2 separate regions of the Homo sapiens genome follow, and region 1 is linked to region 2. The links are contacts of gene promoters, found by promoter capture Hi-C in human tissues and cell types (Jung and others, 2019). All regions are on one chromosome and are shown on one strand. Each heading gives the region's core, a stretch centred on a gene start or on the middle of the fragment in contact. The rest is flanking DNA. Distances are from core to core; before and after follow the strand shown.

Region 1 (3,746 bases), core at 715-3,214, 260 kb after region 2:
GCCCAGCGAATTTTTTTTTGTTTCTTTGTTTTGTTTTATTTTGTTTTGTTTTTCTGAGATGGAGTTTCACTCTTATTGCCCAGGCTGGGGTGCAATGGTGCGATCTTGGCTCACTGCAACCTCCGCTTCCTGGGTTCAAGTGATTCTCCTGCCTCAGCCTCCCGAGTAGCTGGGATTACAGGCACCCACCACCCTGCCCAGCTAATTTTTTGTATTTTTAGTAAAGACAAGATTTTATCATGTTGGCCAGGCTGGTCTCGAACTCCTGACCTCAGGTGATCCACCTGCCTCGGCCTCCCAAAGTGCTGGGATTACAGGTGTGAGCCACCACACCCCAAAATTTTTTTGTTTTTAATAGAGATGGGTTTCATTATGTTGGTCAGGCTGGTCTTGAACTCCTGACCTCAAGTGATCCACCTGCCTCGGCCTCCCAAAGTGCTGGGATTACAGGCGTGAGCCACCGCACCCGGCCTATTTTTAAGGATATGGTCTCACTGTGTTTCCCAGACTGGTCTCAAACTTCTAGGCTCAAGCAATCCTCCTGCCTCAGCCTCTCAAAGTGCTGGTATTACAGGCGTGAGTCACCATGCCCAGCCGTCCAACTTCCAATTTTTCACTGCCCCTAATTTCTTTACCCAGAAAGTACCTGGAATCCTAGACAATGGTTAGGGCTTCTATTCTGAAGACCTCACTGCAGCATTTAGCATTCTCGTGTTGGGGATGGATAGGGAGAGGGCGCACACAATCCCTGCAGCCTTCTGGGGCACGGGGCTGGCCTTACAGTAAGCACTTGAAGGCCCTTCATTCATGAACTGTTGTGCAGGGGATAAACTCTTCCTACTGACTTCCTCTTGAACCCCTGTCCCACTTCCCGTGTCTGTGTAGAGAAAGCTCACCACAGATGAATGTACTGTCTTCCTCTGCCTTCTGCTCCGGCAGCAGCTCTCCACCCTCTCCTCTATCTCAGGAACACCTGGCCTCAGAGCTCAGGGGAGGAGGTAAGCCCAATCAGTCTGAATCCTTATCTTATTCCTTCTGGCTTCAATCTGGCTTCTCCTGGATCTTGAACCCTTCCCTGTGGGTTAAAAGGCCATAGTCCTCTTTTTTTTTCTTTGTTGAGACGGAGTTTCACTTTTGTTTCCCAGGCTGGAGTGCAATGGCGCGATCTCAGCTCACCACAACCTCCGCATCCTGGGTTCAAGTGATTCTCCTACCTCAGCCTCCTAAGTAGTAGCCACCGCGCCTGGCTAATTTTGTATTTTTTTTTTTTTTTAGTAGAGACAGGCTTTCTCCATGTTGACCAGGCTGGTCTTGAACTCCCAACCTCAGGTGATCTGCCCCCCTCGGCCTCCCAAAGTGCTGGGATTATAGGTGTGAGTCACCGCGCCTGGCAAAAGGCCATAGTTCTTACCCCTCCAGCGTGACTGTCTCTGGGCCTGGCTTGGTTTTGACAACTCACCTGGGGGGCAGAGAAAACCCAGCCAACTGGTACAACTTAAACCTTTAGGGTGAATTTAACATTGCCTTGTCTCCTGCCCGAACAGATACCTCTACAGAGCAAACATTTTGTGAGATAAGCCCATAGATGAGGTTTGATACTCTTCCATTAAAGACTGGGGAATATTTGGAACTCAAATCTCAGCGGGGCCTTGAGTGGCAACACTGGCTTTCAAGGGCTGGAAAGAACTTTCGAGAACATTTAATCCATCATCTCATTGTACTCTTTTTTTTTTTTTTTTCTTGAGACGGAGTCTCGCTCTGTCGTCCAGGCTGGAGTGCAGTGGTGCAATCTTGGCTCACTGCAACCTCTGCCTCCTGGGTTCAGGTGATTCTCCTGTCTCAGCCTCCCAAGTAGCTGGGATTACAAGCACCCACCATCTCGCCTAGCTAATTTTTGTATTTTTAGTAGAGATGGGGTTTCACCATGTTGGCCAGGCTGGTCTCAAACTCCTGACCTCAGGTGATTCACCCGCCTCAGCCTCCCAAAGTGTTAGCATTACAGGTGTGAGCCACCACGCCCAGCCAATCATCGTATTCATTTTTGAAAGTATTTATGGAAGGCCCACTGTATAGAATGCATTTTGTTATGTATTTGGATGACACAAAGGCATATAATATACATAAGTAAAATCTTACAAGGCCTGGCCCTGTCCTTCCTCTCCTACCTCCTTTCTAGCACTCTCGGCCTCCCAACAAATTGCTTATGGTTCTCTGCAGACCCCACACTGTGTCCTACCTTTGTGCCTTTCCTCTTCCTGGAAGATCCTCCACACCTCACAGCCCCCCTCTACTGGCTGGCTTCCACTCAACAGTGAGTCTCAGCTTAGCTGCTGTAGCCTCAGGAGGCCTTGACTCTCTCAGACTGGGTTAAGTATCTCCCTCCCTCCCTCCCTTCTTTCCTTCCCTTTCTTTCTTTATTTTTCTTTATTATTATTATTACTTTTTTTGTGATGGAGTCTTGCTCTTGTTGCCCAGGCTGGAGTGCAATGGCGCCATCTTGGCTCACCACAACCTCCGCCTCCCAAGTTCAAGCGATTCTCCTGCCTCAGCCTCCCGAGTAGCTGGGATTACAGGTGTGCGCCACCACACCTGGCTAATTTTGAATTTTTAGTAGAGACAAGGTTTCTCCATATTGGTCAGGCTGGTCTTGAACTCCCGACCTCAGGTGATCCACCCGCCTACGGCCTCCCAAAGTGCTGGGATTATAGGCGTGAGCCACCGTGCCTGGCCACCTTTCCTTTCTTTCTGCAGGATCTTGCTCTGTTGCCCAGGCTGTAGTGCAGTGGTGTGATCACAGCTCACTGCAGCCTTGATCCCCAGGGCTCAAGCAATCCTCCCACCTCAGCCTCTTCAGTAGCTGGGGCTACAGGTACATGCCACTACACCTGGCGATTTTTTTAGAATTTTTATTTTTTGGTAGAGACAGGGTCTCACTATGTGGTCCAGGCTGGTCTTAAACTCCTGAGATGAAGCAACACTCCTGCCTTGGCCTCCCAAACTGCTGGGATTACAGGTGTGAGCCACTGCGCCCAGCCCCCCTTTCTTTTTAAGCTTACCTTATCACCACACTTACCATGTGATCATGAAATTATAGACTTTGTGCTTGTCATGTCGTGCCTTGACCCTGGACTCCTTGCCTTTAGGGATTGAACCTTATTCACCCTTTTAGTGAGACCCAGATTCTCCTCTAATAGGGACTGCAGCCTAGTAGGAGAGAGAAGGCAGCATGATCTCCTAACATGACTCCATCAGGGTGGGCGTGATAGATGCCAGAAGAGCAGTACAAATGAGGAAACTGAGGCTGTGGCTTGCCTGAAGTCACCTTCAGCTTCTTGGCAGGTGGCCAGAGCTGGAAGTCTACCTCCAGTTGGACACAGGAGCCTGGGAAGGAATTCGAAAGCAACCCAACCTTTCACCTCAGAGCTGAAGTCCTTGAGCCTCGGGGCAGTTGTGACTAAGATCAGGAGCCCACAGCCTAAACGGGGGAATGTTCTGGGTGACGAGGCAGTGAGGAGTAGTGAAAGGAGCCTGAGACTGGGCACCAGGAGACCTGGGTCTTGGTTCATGCTCTGTTCCACCTGACCTCTCACCTTCAATTCACTTTAGTCCGTGATGAGAACCCTTGGGTCAAATGGGCCTCCCCAAGATGTCACATCTTTTTCTGAGCGTAAGGTGACTTATGTCCTTCCCCAAGCATCTCCTGGCCAATAAACTGCCCTTCCTTAAGATCCAGCTCAGCTTCTACC
Region 2 (3,937 bases), core at 798-3,297:
AGTGCTGAGATTACAGCTGTGAGCCACCACATCTGGCCATAATTTGGTAGAATTTTCTTAATCTTAGGTCACTGGTTCAGAAAGGAGACAACCTAGGCACCTAATGGGGGCAGGGTGTCTGCAGACTCTCTCAGAAAGCCAGACTTCCTGGGCCCGCACGATGGTGCAAGCCGGTAATCCCAAAACTTTGGAAGGCTGAAGCCAGTGGATCACTTGAGGTCAGGAGTTTGAGACCAGCTTGGCCAACATGGGGAAACTCCATCTCTACTAAAAATACAAAAATTAGCTGGGCATGGTGGTGGGTACCAGTAGTCCCAACTACTCAGGAGGCTGAGGCAGAAGAATCGTTTGAACCCAGGAGGTGGAAGTTGCAGTGAGCCAAGATCATACCACTGCACTCCAGCCTGAGTGACAGAGTGAGACTCCAAAAAAAAAAAAAAAAAAAAAAGCCAGACTTCCATCACTTGTCTGAAAATTATCTGTTTAAGTGCGTTTTTCTCGAGTCCATAACTTTTCAGCAATCTACCATAGACCCCTGAGACCAAATCCAAATGTATGCCTCACCTAATGCTAAGTTAGGAGGGGAAAAGGAGACTCAGTTCCCCATCCCTTAAACAGGCGAGACCAGCCGGGCATGGTGTCTCACGCCTGTAATCCCAGCACTTTGGGAGGCCAAGGTGGGCGGATCATGAGGTCAGGAGATCGAGACCATCCTGGCTAACACGGTGAAACCCCGTCTCTACTAAAAATACAAAAAAAAAAAAAAAAAATTAGCCGGGCGTAGTGGCGGGCGCCTGTAGTCCCAGCTACTCGGGAGGCTGAGGCAGGAGAACGGCGTGAACCCGGGAGGCAGAGCTTGCAGTGAGCCGAGTGAGCCACTGCACTCCAGCCTGGGGGACAGAGCGATACTCCGTCTCAAATAAATAAATTAATAAATAAATAAATGAAATAAACAGGCGAGACCAAAGTCAACTCAGAGAAGCTTTAATAGCAAGAGGTGGGACTAGCCTCCTGGCCCGGGAGAGAGCGGCGGCGGCGGCGCCGTTCAACTGCGGCAGCAGAATAAGCGCGCGTCGTTCAGCGCAGTGTCATCGCCGAGGCCTCTAGGTCCCTGGATCTTGGTCTGCAGGCCGCACGCGCCCTTGGGGCAATGGTCACTCCAGTCTCCAAAGTCTCCCCAGCTCAGCCCAGGCCCCTGCAGTTCCTCGCCGTCTGAACAGCGGAAGCGCACGTTGTTCGCTGCTGTGTTGTCACCGAGGGTCGTGGGTGCCTCCACGCGAAGCGAGAAAGCCACTAGGTAGGCGCCGCCGCGACACCACAGCGGCTCACTCCATTCGCCCCAGCTGCAAGGCAAAGGGAGATGCGTTGCCTCTGCGGGCCCCCCATTCACCAAGCCCTTGAGACTTTCCAAGCCAAGTGCTGTGTATATGACCTGGTGGGCTGGGTGCTCCCCGACCTCCGCCGAGGAGCGGAGGAGGGGTCTTCCATCCACCCTTCGCCTCCCCGGTCTATACTGCCCCGTAGCTCTGGCGGAGCCAGCCTGCCTGTTGCGACGGAGTATGTAATAGAGGGTAAGGGACATACCATCACCCCAAGGGATCCTCGACCCCTGCGCCCCACCTTCCAGACTGGGACTCTACCACGTGCGTATTGCCTAGGACGTTCCCGCGCGCGCAGTGCAGCCTGATCCCATTCAGTGCAGTGTCGTCGCCAGGAATGCCTTGGGGAGGCTCCACCTGGGTATCGAGGAGAGGGGCAAGGGCGAGTCACGGAATTATCATCCTTGGCTCTATGGTCCCACGCATCTCCGCCCTCTCCAGGACCTACGCCTGAGCCCCAACCTTGAGCGAGAACCCGCTGGCGAAGAATCCATCGGGACACATCTCAGGCCAGGCCCAGTCGCCCCAGGGACCCCCGCTGGTCACTTCGATGACCGCCGTGTAGCCGTTCCGGCCATCTGTCTGTGCACATGTGAAACCAGTCGCCCGCAGAAGCAGCAGCAGCGGCAGCAGCTTGGCTCCTGCGCCCCGCTCCATCCTGTAGCGTCTGTGAATCAGGCCTCCTAAGCAGATTTATATCAGTTTGGCCTCTGTGAGGGCTCCGATTGCGGAAGGGCCTCCCAGATTAAGTGAAACCCAAAACTAATCCACTCCCGGAACCCTATTTCCTGCTCCCGGAGGCAGAGGCTCCCAGAGCTAGGGTAGGAGGGGCAGTGAGAGAGGGCGAATTAAAATAACCATCACCTACTGAATATTTACTATAGGCTACGAATTATGGTTAGCGCTTTGCAGTATTTTGTTTAACCCTCACAACAATTTTTGGGGGGTGAGAATTATCCTTCCTATTTTGTAGATGAGGGAACTGGCTCAAAAATGGCAAGCAACTTGCCTTAGGTTTACAGCCAAGCAAGCTGGGAAACATTCCAGCAGTGAGAGTGGAGACAGAGCAGAGACCAGGGCTAGGGATGGAAGTGACCTCCCGGGAGTCCCACCAGTGACGGGATGGGGCAAGAGCAACCCAGAGACCTCCAGGATGTGAGGGGACATCAGAGTGAGGATAGGACAAGAATCCTCGAACTGGAGAAGCTGAGAAAACTCCTGTCAGCTCAGAAGTCTCTTCCTCCTCTGAGAGGTCTTCTGAGAGCTCAGGGCCCTAACACCTTGAGAATCCGGGACACTCCTCCCTACCTTAGAAGAAGACATATACAAACAGAAATAATTCTTTTTTATTTTTATTTTTTGAGTCGAAGTCTCACTCTGTCGCCCAGTGGCGGCATCGCAGTGGCGCGATCTCGGCTCACTGCTACCTCCACCTCCTGGGTTCAAGCGATTCTCCTGCCTCAGCCTCCCGAGTAGCTGGGACTACAGGCGCGCGCCAAGACGCCGCCCCGCTAATTTTTGTATTTTTAGTAGAGACCGGGTTTCACCGTGTTGGCCAGGATGGTCTCTATCTCTTGACCTTGTGATCCGCCTGCCTCGGCCTCCCAAAGTGCTGGGATTACAGGCATGAGCCACCGCGCCCGGTCCAACAGGAATAACTCTAAGAAGTTTGGGGACAGGAGACTAAGAACCCCTAAGAAAAGATCATGCTGTTTCTTCCATTGCTTTCTGTATCCTTATATCCTTTCCTGGAATGCCTTTCCCCCTGTGACCACCAGATGGACTCCTAATTTGCAAAACAAAAAGCGAGAAAATCTGGCTAAGTATGTTTTTTGTTTGTTTGTTTGTTTGTTTGTTTTGAGACGAAGTCTCACTCTGTTGCCCAGGTTGGAGTGCAGTGACGCCATCTCGGCTCACTGCAACCTCTGCCTCCCGGGTTCAAGCGATTCTCTTCCCTTAACCTCCCGAGTAGCTGGGATTATAGGCGTTCGCCACCACGCCCGGCTAATTTGTATATTTTTAGTAGAGACGGGGTGTTGCCATGTTAGCCAGGCTGACCTCAGGTGATCCGCCCACCTCGGCCTCCCAAAGTGCTGGGATTACAGGCGTGAGCCACCGTGCCTGGCCTAAAAATGCCTGGCTAAATTTGTTAGGGGCCACAACCCCAGATTTACCTGCCCCTCATACACACTCCTTTGTTTATTCAATACCTATTTAGCAATAATATGTTTTGGCTTAAGCAATATTCCACTTGCTGTAAGCAAGAATAACAAGGCCCCTGTCATCAGAGGTCACATTCCAGTGGGGGAGACAGAGGATAAATTCTCCCCCAGTGGACCTTGAGCTCTGTGAAGGCACTTTTGTATTCTTGAAGCCTAGTACGTGCGGAAGTACTTAATAAAAGTTGGTGCAATGAATGATTGAAGAGCCAATCTGGAGTTTTGAAAATTAAACCACAAAAATGCAAAAGGATAAAGCCTGACGTACGTATATGATTGCAAGAGGTCATGTATCCAGGTCAAGACAAAGTCCCCTGGGAATAAGATAGAGAATTTAGA

What was found. The method cuts DNA at HindIII sites, captures the fragments that hold promoters and counts their contacts. A contact is called where the count stands out against the background at its distance.
Region 1: a contact is called between a fragment that was not itself captured here and the fragment with the promoter of VMO1 in region 2, in 1 of the 25 tissues and cell types used here (heart right ventricle).

What each region holds. Positions count from the first base shown.
Region 1 is chr17:5,041,440-5,045,185 of GRCh38, forward strand. All of the region lies in intron 3 of LOC105371501 (a long non-coding RNA gene), which reads left to right. It also overlaps a transcript of SLC52A1 not described here. Among named protein-coding and RNA genes, the nearest start is that of SLC52A1, 7.9 kb to the left of the region's middle. RefSeq lists a silencer at 2,211-2,359. The HindIII fragment of the contact is 3,862 bases long and covers 34-3,746 here.
Region 2 is chr17:4,784,317-4,788,253 of GRCh38, forward strand. VMO1 (vitelline membrane outer layer 1 homolog) reads right to left here and starts at 2,048. Exons shown (of 3, transcript NM_182566.3): 1 at 1,842-2,048; 2 at 1,621-1,736; 3 at 969-1,343. The coding sequence starts at 2,036. The coding sequence ends at 1,046. The HindIII fragment of the contact is 14,296 bases long and covers 1-3,937 here.